Linked DNA regions of Homo sapiens: all the other regions are linked to region 3. The links are contacts of gene promoters, found by promoter capture Hi-C in blood cells and fetal thymus (Javierre and others, 2016). All regions are on one chromosome and are shown on one strand. The core of a region is centred on a gene start or on the middle of the fragment in contact, and the rest is flanking DNA. Distances in the headings are between cores, read along the strand shown. Region 1 overlaps DCBLD2 (discoidin, CUB and LCCL domain containing 2). Region 2 has its middle 3.2 kb from the start of LINC00973. Region 3 holds the start of CPOX (coproporphyrinogen oxidase). Region 4 has its middle 95 kb from the start of LINC00973. Region 5 overlaps DCBLD2 (discoidin, CUB and LCCL domain containing 2). Region 6 overlaps DCBLD2 (discoidin, CUB and LCCL domain containing 2).

Evidence for each region. The method cuts DNA at HindIII sites, captures the fragments that hold promoters and counts their contacts. A CHiCAGO score of 5 or more calls a contact.
Region 1: a fragment that was not itself captured here is called in contact with the fragment with the promoter of CPOX in region 3 in 2 of 17 cell types (erythroblasts and megakaryocytes); the score reaches 10.6 in erythroblasts.
Region 2: a contact is called between a fragment that was not itself captured here and the fragment with the promoter of CPOX in region 3, in 3 of 17 cell types (fetal thymus, monocytes and neutrophils). The highest score is 8.1, in fetal thymus.
Region 4: a fragment that was not itself captured here is called in contact with the fragment with the promoter of CPOX in region 3 in 1 of 17 cell types (megakaryocytes); the score reaches 6.2 in megakaryocytes.
Region 5: a fragment that was not itself captured here is called in contact with the fragment with the promoter of CPOX in region 3 in 1 of 17 cell types (neutrophils); the score reaches 6.3 in neutrophils.
Region 6: a fragment that was not itself captured here is called in contact with the fragment with the promoter of CPOX in region 3 in 3 of 17 cell types (fetal thymus, erythroblasts and megakaryocytes); the score reaches 8.3 in fetal thymus.

The regions. Positions count from the first base shown.
Region 1 is chr3:98,873,921-98,876,977 of GRCh38, reverse strand. All of the region lies in intron 2 of DCBLD2 (discoidin, CUB and LCCL domain containing 2), which reads left to right. Among named protein-coding and RNA genes, the nearest start is that of DCBLD2, 26 kb to the left of the region's middle. The HindIII fragment of the contact is 1,489 bases long and covers 983-2,471 here.
Region 2 is chr3:98,909,806-98,912,892 of GRCh38, reverse strand. No RefSeq gene overlaps it. Among named protein-coding and RNA genes, the nearest start is that of LINC00973, 3.2 kb to the left of the region's middle. The HindIII fragment of the contact is 2,136 bases long and covers 519-2,654 here.
Region 3 is chr3:98,592,211-98,595,016 of GRCh38, reverse strand. CPOX (coproporphyrinogen oxidase) reads left to right here and starts at 1,406. Exons shown (of 7, transcript NM_000097.7): 1 at 1,406-2,068. The coding sequence starts at 1,513. RefSeq lists an enhancer at 868-917 and a silencer at 1,418-1,867. The HindIII fragment of the contact is 5,536 bases long and covers 1-2,366 here.
Region 4 is chr3:99,008,483-99,011,557 of GRCh38, reverse strand. No RefSeq gene overlaps it. Among named protein-coding and RNA genes, the nearest start is that of LINC00973, 95 kb to the right of the region's middle. The HindIII fragment of the contact is 1,378 bases long and covers 835-2,212 here.
Region 5 is chr3:98,850,466-98,853,476 of GRCh38, reverse strand. All of the region lies in intron 2 of DCBLD2 (discoidin, CUB and LCCL domain containing 2), which reads left to right. Among named protein-coding and RNA genes, the nearest start is that of DCBLD2, 50 kb to the left of the region's middle. The HindIII fragment of the contact is 3,478 bases long and covers 1-3,011 here.
Region 6 is chr3:98,892,153-98,895,284 of GRCh38, reverse strand. All of the region lies in intron 1 of DCBLD2 (discoidin, CUB and LCCL domain containing 2), which reads left to right. Among named protein-coding and RNA genes, the nearest start is that of DCBLD2, 8.0 kb to the left of the region's middle. The HindIII fragment of the contact is 3,386 bases long and covers 1-3,101 here.

The DNA of each region.
Region 1 (3,057 bases), core at 478-2,977, 280 kb before region 3:
AATGACATTTATATTTTCTGTTTTCTCCTTTCTTATACGAACTTTAACATTCTTTCAATATTCTTTTGTACTTTGCTTTCTCCCTACCTATCAGTGTTTTCTGGAAATCACTGTGCATCATTTTGTAGGATAGTCCTCATTCTTTTTATAGCAGTATAGAACTCCATCATGTGGATGTATCATAGTTTATTTAATCACTCTTTTATGAATGGTTGTATTGGTTGCTTTCAATATTTTACAGTTACAAACTATTTTTGTATTCTTAGAGGTGTCTTTGGTGTAGATTCCTGAAGTGATTGCTGAGTCAAAAGGTAAATTATATACTTTGTTAGACATTGCTAAATTGGAAGTTATACCAGTTTGCATTTCCATAGCATAAAAATGCTTGTTTTCCACAGCCTTCCCAACAAAGTGTGTTGTCATATCTTTTAAGTTTTGCCAATTGATAATGATAAATAGTGCTCAGTATAGTTGTAATTTGCATTTCTCTTACTATGAGTGAAATTGAACTGTTTTTTCCCATATGTTGACGGCCTTTTTTTTTTTTTTTTTTTTTTTTTTTTTTACTTTTTATCTCTTCCTGTCTTTTGCCCGTTTTTCTGTCAAGTTTTTTTTTATTTTTAAAGACAGGTCTTTCTATATTGCTCAGGCTGGCCTCAAACCCCTGGGCTCAAGCAATCATCTCACCTCAGCCCCCTGAGTAGCTGGGACGACAGGCACACACCATTTGCCCATCTGTCAAGTTTTATTGGTCTTTGTTTCTCTCAGGTTTTAGGACTTCTCATTATCTTTTAGGGATATTAGTCTATAAACATAATAGTGGTATATGCTACAAATAATTTCTCCTAATTTGTCAGTTGTCTTTTGACTTTGTTTATGTTACTTTTTTTCAACCATGCAAACTTTTAAAAATGTATTTATAGTTAGATTCATTAGTCTTTTTTTAAATTGCATCTAGATTCTAAGTCCTAGTTAGAAAGCTTCTTCCTATATCCCAACTAAAGATAAATTTACCCATTTTTTTCATAGTGGGATTATATGATTTCATTTTTTATATTTAGATCCCTGGTACATCGGGGTTTTTTTCTTTTGTATGGCATGAAGTATAGATCTCATTGTGTTTTCCATATGACTAACCACTTGCCCCATCACCATGCATTTAAAAGTTTATCTTTGTCCCAGTGGTTTGAAATACTGCCTTTATCATATACTGCAGTTCTGTATGTGCTTGGGTCTATTTCTGGACTTTGGGTTGCACTCCACAGATGTATCTATCCACATACCAGAATGTGACTGTTTTGTAAAGGCTTTCAGAGGCTTTACGGTATGTGTTAATGCCTGATAGGGCTTAGTCTCCTTTCAGAAACGTTCATTTTTAGTGTTTTCCTGGGTCTTCCTTCCTGTTTGTTTATCCATGTGAAGTTTAGTATCAGCTTATCTAACTCCACAAAAAAGCTCGTTGGTGTTTTTATTGACATTATACTGTTTATAAATTAACTTTATGATGTTGAGTTATCTTAAGTTCAAAACCAAGAGCTCTTTTTTTTTCTCCTTTCTTCACATCTACTTTTGTTGTCTTTAAGGATTGTTTTAAACTCTTTCTCATGTAGGGTTTACACATTTTTTGTTAAACTTAATCCTTAACATCTTATCTGCTTTGTTGCAATGGAGATGGAGGTGTTTTTGTTTTGCTGTTATATCCTGTAACGGGTTCCTAATTATGTGAGATTGTATTTCTGTATGTTGATTTTTTTCTGCTATTTTACTGAGTTTTTAAAATTATTTCAGTTAGTTTTATCATTCACTTTCTAGGGATTTTCAGATACACAATCACATCTGCAGATAGAGATAGTTCTACTTCCTTTTTTTCCATTTCTTATGCCTATGGTTGATTCTTTTATCTAATTGTATTGGCTAACACCTCCAGTCCAGGACTACGTTAAACAGTAGTGGAGAGAGTGAGCATCCTTTCCGGGTTCCTTATCTTAGTGGAAATTTAAAGTGTCTGAGCTCAGGTTGCCGTAACAAAATCTATAGACCGAGTGGCTTAAAAAAACAGCAGTTTACTTTCTCAGAGTTTTGGAGGCTAGAAGTCCCACATCAAGATGCCAAGCAATTCAGTTTCTGGTGAGGGCTCTCTTCCTGGCTTGTAGATGGCCACCTTCTTCCTGTGTCCTCACATGACGAGGTTGGAGGGATGAGGAGAGAGAAACAGCAGGTTCTCTTATGTCTCTTCTTATAAGTACACTAATCCTGTTGGATCAGCGCCCCACCTTAGGAAAACTAAAACCATTTAATTTTAATTACCTCTCTAAAGAGCCTAACTCCAACTCTAGTCATATTAAGAGTTGGGACTTCAACAGCAATTAATTTTGGGGGGCGTACCAGTATCTGGTCCATAATAGGAAGTATCCACTGATTTCCATTAAGTGTTGTTATCAAGAAAGACTATTGAATTTTGTTGAAAAGCTTTTTTAGCATCTATGGAGGTAATGATATGGTTTTTCTACCTAAATCTATTGGTATAGTGTATTATATTAATGGGTTCCCTAATATTGAAATAACTGTGCATTGTTGGAATAAGTATCTCTTGGTTATGATGTGACATTCTTTTAATGTGGCATTGGATTATGTTTCCTAATATTTTATTAGTATTTTTGCATAAATATTGGTGTGATATTAATTTGTAATTTACTTTGCATTTTCTTTATCAGGCTTAGGTATTGATACTATACATACAAATAAAAAGAAATATGAAGTTTTCCTTTCTTTTTAGTTCTCTGGAAAAATTTACAGAGAATTTGAACAATCTAGTTTTTGAAGGTTTCACTCTGTGAAGCTATTTTAGCCTGGTGCGTTTTTGATAGGATGCTTCCTTAATGACGTTCTCTGTTTCTTCTCAGGAAATTGGTCTGTTTGAGCTTTCTACCTCTAATGGGTCCAATTGTAATAAACGGTACTTGCCTGGTAAATTACCCATTCACCTAGGTGATCTAATATATTGGCCATGATGTCTGTAAAATAGAATCTTACAGTTATTAACATGGTTATTTCAGT
Region 2 (3,087 bases), core at 337-2,836, 320 kb before region 3:
TGAAGGCCATGCTCTTACCCTCCACTTAGGTCAACGCAGTAGGATAAGCAATGTGCATCAAATATACTGATTATATTCACAAAATGAATCTACATATCTTTGGAATCAAGCATTGATTTAGAGAGATCACCAATAAATAATGCCAGATATGTGGTTTAAAAATCGTTCTTTTAAATTCAGAATTGTATAAGCACTAGGCATGTACAGTTTTTTACAATTAAAAGAAAAAATAGCTAAGTCAGGGAAATTATATTCTCCTTTGTTTCTCTCCTAGGAATTATTTTTGTCTGCAATCAATCCTTCAGAAGAATCTCTCACATCTTCACTTTTGTGCAGTATGTTAACTATGAACAAAATGATAGTGTATGTCAGTCAAATGTAATACTTATATTAAAACCTGATTATTAATGCAGAAGCTCATGGAAAGTAAGGTTAATCTGAATAATATATTATTTCTCTTAGTCCACAATCTATCATTTCACAAACCATGGTTAATAGAATGACAAAAATAAAAAGCTTTGTTTAAATGAAAATGTATAATATATTCTTCATCTCATTTATATCTTATTGTGTTAGGTAGGCGAACATAGCTAGTCTGTGAATGTGATAAAAAGAAGATGATACATTTCTTTGTTTTAAAAATCTTAAGTATTCCTGCTAAATAGTGAGTTTCCAAAGGCTTGCTATTATTTAAAATATTGCTTCCTAGTCTATTAACTTATTAAACAAATATCTTACAGTTTAAAGGATTCAAAAAGGCTGGTTAAAAGAAGAGATCTATGCATTAAAAAATCCCAATTTCTATTTTTTAATATTAAAAACATTCCTTTTAAATATCTTTTTTTCCAACTTTTATTTTAAGTTCAGGGGTACCTGTGCAGGATATGCAGGTTTGTTACATAGGTAAATGTGTGCCATGGTGGTTTGCTGTACAGATAGTCCCATCACCTAGGTATTAAGTGCAGCATCCATTAGCTATTCTTCCTGACCCTCTCCCTCCTCCCACCCACACCCTCCGACAGGCCCCAGTGTGTGTTGTTCCCCACTATGTGTTCATGTGTTCTCAACATTCAGTTCCCACTTATAAGTGAGAACATGTGGTATTTGGTTTTCTGTTCCTGCATTAGTTTGCTGAGGATAATGGCTTCCAGCTCCATCCACGTCCCTGCAAAGAACATGATCTCATTCCTTTTTATGGCTGCACAGTATTCCATGGTACATATGTAACCACATTTTCTTTATCTAGTCTATCATTGATGGACATTTAGGTTGATTACAAGTCTTTGCTATTATGAATAAAGCTGCAATGAACATATGCACACATGTATCTTTATAACAGAATGATCTATTCCTCTGGGTATATATACGCAGTAATGAGATTGCTGAGTGAAGTGATATTTCTGCCTCTAGGTCTTTGAGGAATCACCACACTGTCTTCCACAATGGTTGAACTCATTTACACTCCCACCAACAGTGTAAAAGTGTTCCTTTTTCTCCACAACCTTGCCAGCATCTGTTGTTTCTTGACTTTTTAATGATAACCGTTCTGACAGGCATAAGATGGTATCTCATTATGGTTTTGATTTGTATTTCTCTAATGATTAGTAATGTTGAGCTTTCTTTTTTTTTTTTTTTTTGAGACGGAGTCTCACTCTGTTGCCCAGGCTGGAGTGCAGTGGCGCGATCTCAGCTGCTCACTGCTGCAAGCTCCACCTCCCAGGTTCACACCATTCTCCTGCCTCAGCCTCCCGAGTAGCTGGGACTACAGGTGCCCGCCACCACACCCAGCTAATTTTTTGTATTTTTTAGTAGAGACGGGGTTTCACCATGTTAGCCAGGATGGTCTCGATCTCCTGACCTCGTGATCTGCCCGCCTTGGCCTCCCAAAGTGCTGGGATTGCAGGCGTGAGCCACTGCACCCAGTCGCATGTCTTCTTTTGAGAAGGGTCTGTTCATGTCCTTTGCCCACTTTTTAATGAGCTTGTTTTTTTCTTGTAAATTTATTTAAGTACCTTGTCGATGCTGGATATTAGACATCTGTCAGATGGGTAGTTTGCAAAAATTTTCTCCCATTCTATAGGTTGTCTGTTCACTCTGATGATAGTTTCTTTTGCTGTGCAGAAGCTCTTTCGTTTAATTAGATCCCATTTGTCAATCTTTGCTTTTGTTGTAATTGCTTTTGGCATTTTCTTTATGAAATCTTTGCCCGTGCTTATGTCCTAAATGGTATTGCCTAGATTTTCTTCTAGGGTTTTTATAATTTTGGGTTTTACAATTGTCTTTAATCCATCTTGAGTTGATTTTTGTATATGGTGTAAGAAAAGGGTTCAGTTTCAATTTTCTCCATATGGTTAGCCAGTTAGTTCTCCTAGCACCATTTGTTAAATAGAAAATCCTTTCTCTATTGCTTGTTTTTGTCAAGTTTGTTGAAGATCAGCTGGTTGGAGGCGTGCAGTCTTATTTCTGGGTTCTCTATTCTCTTCCATTGGTCTATGTGTCTGTTCTTGTACCAGTACCATGCTGTTTTGTCACTGTAGTCTTGTAGTATATTTTTCAGCCAGGTAGCATGATGCCTCCAGCTTTGTTTTTGCTTAGGATTGTCTTGGCTATTTGGCCTCTTTTTGGGTTCCATATTTGATCATAGTGGATAAGCTTTTTGATGTGCTGCTGGATTCAGTTTGCTAGTATTTTATTGAGGGTTTTTGCATTGATTCTTATCAAGGATATTGGCCTGAAGATTTCTTTTTTTGTTCTATCACTGCCAGGTTTTGGCATCAGGTTAATGCTGATGTCATAGAATGAGTTAGGGAAGAGTCCCTCCTTTTCAATTCTTTGGAATAGTTTCAGTACAAATGGTACCAATTCTTCGTGCCTATGAAGTGAATCCATCTGGTTCTGGACTTTTTTTGGTTAGTAAGCTATTTATTACTGCCTCAATTTCAGGACTCATTATTGGTCTATTCAGGGATTTGAATTCTTCCTGGTTCAGTTATGGGATTGGGGGTATGTGTTCAGAAGTTCATCAGTTTCTTCTAGATTTTCTAGTTTATGTGTATAGAGGTGTTGATAGTATTCTCTGATGGTTGT
Region 3 (2,806 bases), core at 157-2,656:
CAATTGATCTGACTCAAAAGCCATTGAAGTTCCATCAGTGCATCCTGCCACAAAGAAAACACTTGTGGGAAAAGCTACCAGTGGCTTAAATTATTATCTACTACTAGAAATTAAAATCATCCCGGAGACTTATGGGACAAATTAGCCCATGACAATAGTTCTCACACTTTTACGTCCAGGAACCATGGAGCTGTGGTATGGTTACAGGGGAGACAAAGACCTGCCTGTCAAATCTATTAGCTTCTTTCCTCATTTCTTTAAAGGGTGGGGGAAGGGAGACAGAGTAGGAGGAAGTGTGGATATTTGCCTTGCCTAGTTTGTAGCAGTTGTTGTAAGTATTAAACGTGAGCAATATTTGGGAGCACCCTACAGTAGTAGAATAACTATTTTTTAAATTCTTATTTGTTAATCACCAAAACACACCAAGTCAGGAATTTTCTACTGGTTAACCAAAACAGTCACGTTGCTTTTCCTTTTTCTAAAATAATCAAGTAGGCACTATAGAAGCAAGGCCTGGGGAAACCTTTTTTTTTTTTTTTTTTTTCTGAGACAGAGTCTCACTCTGTCACCCAGGCTGGAGTGCAGTGGTGCGATCTCGGCTCACTACAACCTCTGCCTCCCGGGTTCAAGCGATTCTCCTGCCTCAGCCTCCCGAGTAGCTGAGCCTACAGGTGCACGCCGCCACGCCCGGCTATTTTTTTGTAGTTTTAGTAGAGACAGGGTTTCACCATGTTGGCTGGTCTCGAACTCCTGACCTCATGTGATCCAACCGCCTCGGCTTTCCAAAATGCTAGCATTACAGGCTTGAGCCACCGCGCCCGGCCCCAGCCTGGGGAAATCTTAAGGACAGAACTGTGATGTGGACTCGATCACAGAAAGTCTTCTCCTCGACTCTCTTCCGAGTCCATTACTAGCTTCTCCCACTCTCTTTAGAAAACCATCCTTCAGCAAAGAGTTTCCCAGCCTGCCCATCCCCTCTAAAAACTCTAGAGGACCAGGACCCAGGGCGAAGGGCGGGTCTATACAGATCCTGAGCCAGGCTCTGTATTCGCAAATCCTGTTTGAAAATGTAAGCGGGACTGGGATCTCTGCCACATTTCCGCCCCAGTCCGCCCTCAGCCTCCCAGCCCTACTCTATCTTCTCTCCTTGGCTGAGTAAACAGCCGACCCGAGGTTGTACGTGACAAGAAAGCCTCTTTTATCTCTCCCGTCCCTTCCACAGCACCGTCCCCGCCCCACTCTCTTCCCTTCGGACCAGCCCTTCTGGGCGCGTCGGATTCTTATCTCCCGCCCCGCGCAGGGACGCCGCAGGCGGCGATAGGATCCGGACTACAGCTCCCAGCGCGCCCCAGTTCCCGCCCCCGCCTCCGGAGCCCGACGCTGCAGCGGCTCTTCTCGAAAGGTTCTTTCCGCCTGTGCAGCTCGCCGGCTCAATACTCCGGGGGTCTGGGTGGGGGGCTCAAACGCAGGGCTCTGGGACGCAGGCACTGCTCCAGGTGATAGTGCGGGAACATGGCCTTGCAGCTGGGCAGGCTGAGCTCGGGCCCCTGCTGGCTCGTGGCGCGGGGCGGCTGCGGAGGGCCCCGCGCCTGGTCCCAGTGCGGCGGCGGAGGGCTCCGAGCCTGGTCCCAGCGCAGCGCAGCCGGACGCGTCTGCCGGCCCCCTGGCCCGGCTGGCACGGAGCAGAGCCGCGGGCTGGGGCACGGCTCGACGTCGAGAGGCGGCCCCTGGGTGGGGACAGGGCTGGCCGCGGCGCTGGCGGGGTTGGTGGGGCTGGCCACCGCCGCCTTCGGGCATGTGCAGCGGGCGGAGATGTTGCCTAAGACCTCGGGGACGCGGGCCACTTCGCTGGGGAGGCCGGAGGAGGAGGAGGATGAGCTGGCCCACCGCTGCAGCAGCTTCATGGCCCCGCCTGTGACCGACCTGGGCGAGCTGCGAAGGAGGCCGGGCGACATGAAGACCAAGATGGAGCTGCTGATTCTGGAGACCCAGGCCCAGGTGTGCCAGGCTCTGGCACAGGTAGACGGGGGCGCCAACTTTTCTGTGGACCGGTGGGAGAGGAAGGAAGGTAAGGAGGCCGGCCCCTGGCGGGAGTTGGAGACAGGGAAAAAGGGTCAGGTTCCAGGTTGCAGACAGAAAATATAATAGTTCACAATATGGGATGGGGTAGGTAGGGGGTACCCACAGAGAGGCCGCTTGGTTAGAGGCCGCTGATAAAAAGATGGACACGAAAGGGTCACTAGCCCTCTGCTTGCAGGTATGGACCCGGATCAGCTGTCACTGTAGTACTGCATTTCAAAATCTTTGCAATTCCGTAGCAGCATTTTTTTGTAGAACTCTTAAGGGGTATTTGCAGCTAACAAGCTTAGATGTCCAAAGTTCGTTACTGAACATAAATTTCAATAGATTATGGAACACATTTTCTCTCCTTCTCTGGGTGAATTTGCCCTTTTTCCTCTTTAGGAGATGGAAAGAACTCATCTCCTGTGCGCTAAGTGTCGGCTAAACTCCTCCAGCCAGGATGTCATTGTGTCAGAATCTTCCCACTTCTTTTTACTGTTACACAAGATATATTTGATTCGTTTCTCAGTAGCACTACCAAATGCACGCATCAGATTTCCTGCTAGGAAAATCTTCTCTTCCAATATCAAAATACTTGAGCATCAAAACCCAGTTCTCGTAGAGGCGTACATTCATGACCATGTTGTTGCCCATACAGTGAAACCCCACATCTTGAGTGGAAACTTGAAAGATTCCTGACTTTTCCTAGCTGGAAATACAACAGCAGCTTCTCACCGGCAGATTT
Region 4 (3,075 bases), core at 274-2,773, 420 kb before region 3:
TTCCATTGACCCATTCTCTTCTCCTGATAAGTATACATATTTAACAACTGAATTCATTATAATTAATGCCCCCTAATATACAAAGGGCCATGAATCTTTAAAAACAAGAAAATTGGTGAAATCAGGGAAAAGGAAATATAACTGGCCAAAAACACATTAAAAGTGCTAAACCTAACTGATGATTAAGGAAATAAAAATTGAAGAAATTATACTATCAGAATGGCAAAACAATTATTCAATGATAACAGCCATTGGTAAAGATGTGAGAAACTAGGTAGTTGAATTGAAGCTGATAAAATCTCCTTAGGGAGCAATTTGGTATTATGTTTTAAAATGTAAAACTCATATTCCCTTTGAGCTAGCTCTTCCATTTTCAGAAAGTTATGTTATAGACTCTCATATACACACACTAGTATATATACACATATGTATATATGTGTATAAACACACATGCTAATTGCCATTTTAATTTTTTAATTAAAAGCAACCTAAATGCTCACTGATAAGAAATATGTTAAATATAATATATAGGTATATATACACACACACATTACAATGTATTGGCATATTCATACATTGAAAAGCTGTGACATCATGAAGACACCAAAGCAAATCTAAATGGAGCTGTCTCTCAGGTACACCAAAATAATAAACATATTTTGGTAAAAATTGTGTGTGTACATATATATATATATATATATATATATATATATGTCTTTTATAACTACATAAGCTTACATAAGCATACAACGTTTTTGGAAAGATCCACAAGAAACTCTTTACAGTGGTTAGTTCTGGCAAAGAATACAAAGGGTCCAAAATGGAAGGAAAGCTTATTTCTGTCATCATGTACCAATTTGAACTATTTGAATTTTGTTCATGTGCATGTATTACTTGTTCAATAAAAGGAACATGTTACATATAATATTTATGTTATATATATTTATTTGACCTGCAAAAATAAATATTATATGTAACATGTTTCTAGTTTGGGAAAACCTCATTAAAGTTCTGTGAATATTCTTGTACAAATTGTTTTGTGGACACATGCACTACTTTTGGCACATCCCAAATATAATATACTCAAAGCCATCTGTATTAACTTCTCTCCTTCATCTTACATCTTCAATTCATTTTCCTGTTCACCAGGATGACAAAATTTTTTTTTAAAAAATATTCAATCCCTAGAATTTTTTTGACTCTTCTCTCCTCTTCACTTTCTGTGCAAAATGACTCTTCAAAAACTATTGTTCTCTTTCTCTTATAGTTCACATTGGCATATGACAGACTACTCAAAAATTAGCGTTGTAAAACAACCACCATTTTATTTTTCTTATAATTATGTGGGTTAGGAATTACAATTGGTTCAGCTAGGTAGTTTTCACTTAGGGCCTCCAATATATTTGCAATCAAACATCAGCTCATCCCTGTTATCTGAAGGATTAACTAGCCTTGACATCCAAGACAGCTCACTCATATAGCTGGCAGCTGGTAATGGCTGATATAGTTTGGATGTTTATCACTTCCAAAACTCATGTTAAAGTATAATCCTCCATGTTGGAGGTGGGGCCTAGTGAGAGGTGTTTCAGTCATGGAGGCTGCTCCCTCATGGCCTGGTGCTGTCCTGGTGATTGTGAGTGCATTCATGTGAGATCTGGTTGTTTAAAAGTGTGTGGCATCTTCCCCCTCTCTTTCTTGCTCCTGCTCTTGCCATGTGACACACCTGCTCCCCCTTTTCCTTCTGCCATGATTGGAAGATTCCTGAGACCCTCACAAGAAGCAGATGCTAGCACCGCGCTTATATGGTCTGCAGAACTATGAGCCAATTGAACCTCTTTTATTTACCCAGCCTTAGGTATTCCTTTATAGCAATGCAATAAGGGCCTAATACAGAAAATTGGTACCAAGGAGTGGGATCTTTCTATAAGGATACCTAAAATTGTGAAAGCAACTTTGAAACTGGGTAACAGGCAGAGTTTGGAGGGCTCAGAAGAAGACAGGAAGATGAGGAAATGTTTAGAACTTATTTTAGAGACTGGTTAAATGGCTGTGATCAAGATGCTGATAGTGATATGGACAATGAAGGCCAGGCAGATGAGGTCTCAGAAGGAAATTAGGAACTTATTGGGAACTGGAGTAAAAGTCATCCTTGTTATGCCTTAGCAAAAAACTTGACTGCATTATGTTCATGTCCTAGGAATAAATGAAAGCTTGAACTTAAGAGTGATGACTTCGCATATATGATGGAAGAAATTTCTAAGCAGCAAATGTTCAAGGTATGACCTGTTTCTAAAAACCTACACGTTGATGTGGGAGTGAAGAAAGGACTTAAAGTTAGAACTTATGTTAAAAAGAAAACTGTAAACATGTGCAAAATTTGCAGCCTATCCATGTGGTAGAAAAGAAAAGCCCATTTTCAGGAGATGATTGTATTTTGCAATATGAGAAGGGCATGAAATTTGAAGGGCCAGGGGCAGAATGATATAATTTGGATGTTTGTACCCTCTAAATCTCATATTGAAATGTAATTCCCAATGTTGGAAGTGGGGCCTGATTGGAAGTGTTTGGGTCATGGGGACAGATCCCTCATGGATGGGTTGGTGCTGCCCTCATGATAGTGAGCGAATTCTCATGATATCTGGTGGTTTAAAAGTGTGTGGCACCTCCTAGTCTCCTCTCTTGCTCCCACTCTCCCTATGTGATGTGCCTGCTCCCCTTAGCTTCCACTATAATGGGAATCTTCCTGAGGCCCCCACCAGAAGCAGATGCAGTGCCATGCTTGTCAGCCTGCAGAGCCATGAACCAATGGGATATTCCTTTCTAGCAATTCAAGAACAGCCTAATATAGTGGCTCTACCAAAGAACTTACATGTGTCCTCTTCAGAATGGTGGATTCCAGGTAGTAAGATTTCCTAGATGGTGGCAGATTTCCTCCAGGGCAAGCATTCCAAAAACACCAGGGGGAACCATACAGTCCTTCTAACCTAGCCTAAATTATTAGCCAATTGTTAAACATTGATCAAAACACCACTGACTTAGTTCTTCCTTCTTTGCTTTCTATGTTTGTGTACATGC
Region 5 (3,011 bases), core at 33-2,532, 260 kb before region 3:
ATGATAAATGATAGCTGAGCTTCAGGACTGGTGGCATTGTGGAGTGATAGGGCTGTGGCAAACTGGAGTGTGACTTTCTTTTTCAAAGGGGACAGCTGCTACTTAAGGACAACCACTTAGAAAACTGGCCTAGATTTCCTTTTTTTCCTTGTGATTTTTCAAGAGAAGTTGGAAATTCAGAATTTATGTTAAGTTTCCAGATTTTGAGAACTTTAACACCTAATTTAAACATTTTTGAAGGAGAGTATAGCCCAGAGCTGTACAGACCAAGAGGCCTGTGGGCTAATTTGGGTCCTGAGCCATCAATTCTAACTTCGCCTCCATACCTCTATCAAATTCAATTATCCAAAAGCACAATATTCTTGGACTGTACACTAAATTCCTGGTTGTATTCTGTTTTACTTTGCTTCTTAATAAATTATCACAAGCCTACAACTTAAAACAGCGCAGTTTTATCATCTCACTTCCCATGGATCTGAAGTCTAGGCATTGCATGGCATGACTGAATTCTCTGCTTGGGGTCCCACCAGGCTGAAATTAAGGTGTTAGCTGGGAATACGTTTCTCATCTGGGGCTCACAGTTCTCTTCCAAGTGTACTAGTTGTTGGTAGAATTCAGTTCATTGCAGTTGTAAAACTGAGGTCCCCATTTTCTTGGTAACTGTTGGCCAGGGACTGCTTTAACTTTCTAGAGGTGACTTGCAATGGCCCTGATAGGCAAGTTGCTACATAGATGTTTGCATTCTTCCAGGCCACCTGGCATGTGTCTCTCTTATTTCCAATTCTGCAACCTGAGAAAACAATGTGCTTTTAATGGGCCTACCTGATTAGTTCAGGCTTACCCAGAAAAATCTCCGTTTTGCCATATATGTAACATAAAAGAAGTTAAAAATGAAACTGACAGGGAATCCTGGTAAGAAATACCCTAGAAGGCTGGGTGCGGTGGCTCACGCCTGTAATCCCATCACTTTGGGAGGCCGAGGTGGGTGGATCACCACAGGTCAGGAGTTCTAGACCAGCCTGGCAAATACGGTGAAACCCTGTCTCTAATAAAAATACAAAAATTAGCCTGGCGTGTTGGTGTGCGCCTGTAATCCCAGCTACTTGGGAGGCTGAGACAGGAGAATTGCTTGAACGTGGGAGGCAGAGGTTGCAGTGAGCCAAGATCACGCCACTGTACTCCAGCCTGGGTGACAGAGCGAGACTCCTTTAAAAAAAAAAAAAAAAAGAAATATCCTAGAAGCATTAAAAGATCACATACTAGAGGAAATTTTACAAGTAAACACACATTGGAAAAGTTAATCAAGAAAATAACAAGTTACCAGTCTCTTGATCACCAATACTGCTGGGGAGAAGGGGAATAAATTGGTACAGCCTTTTTGTTTAATTAGATTCCATTTGTCAGTTTTGGCTTTTGTTGCCATTGTTTTTGGTGTTTTAGTCATGCAGTCTTGGCCCATGCCTATGTCCTGAATGGTATTGCCTAGGTTTTCTAGGTTTTTTATGGTTTTAGGTCTTACGTTTAAGTCTTTAATCCATCTTGAGTTAATTTTTGTATAAGGTGTAAGGAAGGGGCCCAGTTTCAGTTTTCTGCATATGGCTAGCTGGCCAGTTTTCCCAACAGCATTTATTAAATAGGGAACCCTTTCCCCGTTGCTTGTTTTTGTTAGGTTTGTCAAAGATCAAATGGTTGTAGTTGTGTAGTGTTATTTCTGAAGCCTCTGTTCTGTTCCATTGGTCTACATACCTGTTTTGGTACCAGTACCGTGCTGTTTGGGTTACTGTAGCCTTGTATAGTTTGAAGTCAGGTAGCGTGATGCCTCCAGCTTTGTTCTTTTTGCTTAGGAATGTCTTGGCTACATGGATTCTTTTTTGGTTCCATATGAAATTTAAAGTAGTTTTTTCTAATTCTGTGAAGAAAGTCAATGGTAGCTTGATGGGGATAGCATTGAATCTATACATTTGGGCATTATGGCCATTTTCCTGATATTGATTCTTCCTATCCACGAGCATGGAATGTTTTTCCATTTGTATCCGCTCTTATTTCCTTGAGCAGTGCTTTGTAGTTCTCCTTGAAGAGGTCCTTCACATCCCTTGTAAGTTGTATTCCTAGGTATTTTATTCTCTTTGTAGCAATTGTGAATGGGAGTTCTCTCATGATTTGGCTCTCTGTCTGTTATTGGTGTATAGGAATGCTTGTGATTTTTTCACGTTGATTTTGTATCCTGAGACTTTGCTGAAGTTGTCTATCAGCTTAAGGAGATTTTGGGCTGAGACAATGGGGTTTTCTAAATATACAGTCATGTCATCTGCAAACAAAGACAATTTTACTTCCTCACTTCCTGTTTGAATACCCTTTATTTCTTTCTCTTGCCTGATTTCCCTGACCAGAACTTCCAGTACTATGTTAATAGGAGTGGTGAGAGAGGGCATCCTTGTCTTGTGCAGGTTTTCAAAGGGAATGCTTCCAGTTTTTGCCCATTCAGTATGATATTGGCTGTGGGTTTGTCATAAATAGTTCTTATTATTTTGAGGTATGCTGATTTTGAACTTTTTAAAGCAATTTTATTCCTAAGTTTTTTAACTTTTTTGATGCTATTATGGATGGAGTTTTAAAAATTTCATTTCAGATTGCACTAGCATATATGGAAATGCAGTTGATTTTTGTATATGGATCCTGTGACTTAGCTAAGTTTCTTTACTAGTTCTAGAGAGGTTTTGTTTTGTTTTATTTGTCAATTCCTTAGAATTCACTACTCATAAGATAAAGTATCATCCTTGAAAATGATATCCTTGGAGGTCCACATTACTCTTATTCAAGTGATGTTGCCATAGCTTAAAACATTTTTGGAAGTCCTTATTCAGGCTTTCTTACACAAGTTACCAAGCACATAAGAAAATCAGTTTTTATTATTTATTAGTGTGTGTCTTGCTTTAATTTTTCTTCTTCTTTCTTTTTATCTTAGTATCTTAGATCTGTACTGAGGATATGTTATTTTTTATATATCTGAT
Region 6 (3,132 bases), core at 159-2,658, 300 kb before region 3:
GCCAGCAGCCCCTTTATCATCTGTAAGATACCGTCCAAACTCCTTTGCGTATCATGTAAGTAATTTTTTTCACAGTCTGGTCCCTCCCTTTCACTCTGACTTAATCTAATGCCAGCATTTCTCACACTGTATAGTTCAGATATGAGACTGAGCTAATTTTATTCTTCTAAGATATAATTTCATGCCATTTTGCCTTGTTCCCTATACTAACCTCTTCATATATGCAGTTTCCTCTACTTGAAATGCTCTTACTTTCCTTGTCTTCTCGGTAAACTCTCGATCAGCCTTCAAAACCCTTCTTGGGTATCATCCCTTTATGAAGAGTTCTCGAACAGTCCCCACACACTCATCTCCGGATAATACATTCCACACTGTATTCTAAGTATTTATTCCTGCCAGCGGAGAGAGTTTTATTCATTTTCTTATTTCTAATACTTATCATAGTGTCTGTCATTCAAATTATGTGAATTAAGAACCCCATTTCTAGAGTTAATCTGCTACCCTGAGCACATTATTTGGTTCATCCCTTGGCACCGGCATGCACTTCATGCTGTTGTCCTTTGCCTAATCCCCGTAAATTAGTGGTCAGTTCAGGAGCCGGGAACAGAGCCATGTCTTGACCCTTACTACCTGTTTGCTCAGAGCCTAACAGTCTTCCCAGCCTTTCCCAGTCCCACCTCTTCCCAGGAGGAAGACTCCTTTGCTGCACACCCTTGACTATGAGAGGAATCCTTCAAGCTGAAATTCTGAAAATAGACATGCCTACTTCTTAGAAAGCTCTGCTCCCCTCAGATGGGTCATCCTTAACAACCGTGACAGCCTAAATCAGTGCCAGCAATTTGGGCACACTTTCTCCTTTGCATGCTTTCAGCTTCTGACTTCAATAGGCATCTCCAATATTATAAAAGTCCCCCTAGTTTTTGTTCTCGTAGTTGCCTGTCTCCTTTTTCTTGCCAGTGGATGTTGCTGGGGAGCATTCAGGTAGCTTCACTAATCTGGTGTAATAGAAAAGTAATGAGAAATGGAGGCTGGAACGTATTGTGGAGGACTTCCCATTGAGGGGCAGACTGAGGAGTTTGTATCTGCGATGTTAGGCCTGACATTAGCCTCAGGTGCTTCCTCTTTCACCTGGTTCATTTGTCTGTCACTAGGTTTGGTTATCTCTTCTCAACTCAGGCACCCCAAATCCATCATCTCAACAATGCTCTTTCCGTGATCTTGGACAGTTCCCAAACTTGGGCCCATGTGATAATCCCCATTCTCTGCTTTCTCTGGTTCTGGATAGCTCATAGTTACAAGATTAAGTCATGTGGTCATCGTGATTAGATCTGCCACAAATGAGGTCTGGCTAATCAAGTCCCAAGTGGGGATTACTGCTTAGCAGACTATCTCACTTTGTAAAGCTGATTTGTACAGCCGAACTCCTGCCCTGCTCCTAATCCTTGCACAGTATGACTTCCTCCTGACTGAAACCTTGTCCTCTTCCTCTTTATCAGAGCACTGCTACATTGGGGAATGTGAATTTTGTTTTGGCATGCTTTACACTTTGATGGCACTTTTACTTTATATCTGGAAACATGCTCAAAATGCCACTGGCTTTTACATATCTCTTTTTTCATTGCTTTGTGGTACCTTGTATCTCTGCTTTTTTCAGTGACGAGCTTTCTAAATGGTAATCTACATTTGTGCTGTATATTTTCTTAGTGACTGGCACACAGCAGATATTTGTTAAATTGTTAATTTATTTTTTAACCCTTGCAATAAAAAAGCAAGGGTTTTGTTTCTGCTTTACTGAAACTGTCATTTACACTGTCAGATTTTTGTTTGTTTTGGTTTTTGTTTTAGTTTGAAAAACCAAGCAGCTTTGCCTATCTTTATTATTGGTTTCTTTTTTTTTTTTTTCTTACTACAGTGGTCTTTGAAAATCTGGAGGCTTTGGACTTGGACATACCTGGATTTAAATAATAGCCTTGTTGAACTTGACATCCAGTTACTACTCTAAATATTTTAAAATATGTAACTCATCTTTCTTTTTAGACTGTAACGAGGGCTGGGATTGAATCTGGGTAGCAAGTAAATTTTTGTTCAATGAATGAATCAATATGTCAAAGAAAATTTTGTTTCATTTTACTCTGCAGTTAAAATTTCCATTTTTATATGTTTCCGTTCCACTAAGACTCACTTTTCCATCCCTCTTCCCTTTATCCCCAATTATTGTTCCACCCCCAGCTCAGTGAGAGGAGTCAGAGCATGCAATAGAGGAATGTGGCAGAAAGGCATGACTGTCTCCAGCCCACCCAAATCTTAATGTGAGTTCTGTGCTCTCCTTTTTGACCTTTGCTCTGCCTCTTCAGCCTTCTGCCTGTTGGTGTGCTTCAGTGTTTTTTGATCCCCACCATCTCAGATCATTTTATCTCTTCTTTCCTGATATACCTTTGTTTCTGTCTACTCTTGGCATCCTAAAAGCCAGCTTTATAGGTCTGGATGTGAGGTGGACATTCTTTTGCATGCATGGAGGAAGAGTGTTTTAGTTAGGACTTTTGAGGTTATAGAGAACAGAAATCCATATCTGATTAAGGTAGAAGGAGAAACTATTGGGAGGATTGAGAGGGGAAGGCAGGAATGCAGCTAGACTTCAGGAACCAAGGACTCAGCTTAGTTCTTCCCTCTTGTTTCAGTCTGGCTTTCTCTTTGTGGAAGGAATCATGGCTGCTGGCAATCCCGAAGGCTTACGGTTTTAACACGGAGAAATTCTGTATTTTCCCTATTGTACAAGGTCCAGGAAAGGGTGAGTTGGCCCTCACATTGACCCAGTGTGATTCAGTACCCACCCTTGGACCAGTCAAATAACCAGGGGGCATGAGGTCATATTAAAACTGTTGGGAAACTGCAGAGCACCTTCCAGAGAAGGATAAGGCAGGGTACTAGATAAACAGAGGCATCCTCTTCTAGGAGAAAGAGTGTTACATTTATAAAGAGACCACTGTATTTTAAAGAAGTTCTTACTGAACCTTTACATTTATCTTGGGAGATGGGTGGTGGTATCCTCATCCGTGAGGTAGTTGCATCCTCACCAGTATACTGGTTAGGGTATGTAAGCTTGTGGCAGTTAAGTGTCCAGGATCTTGAAAA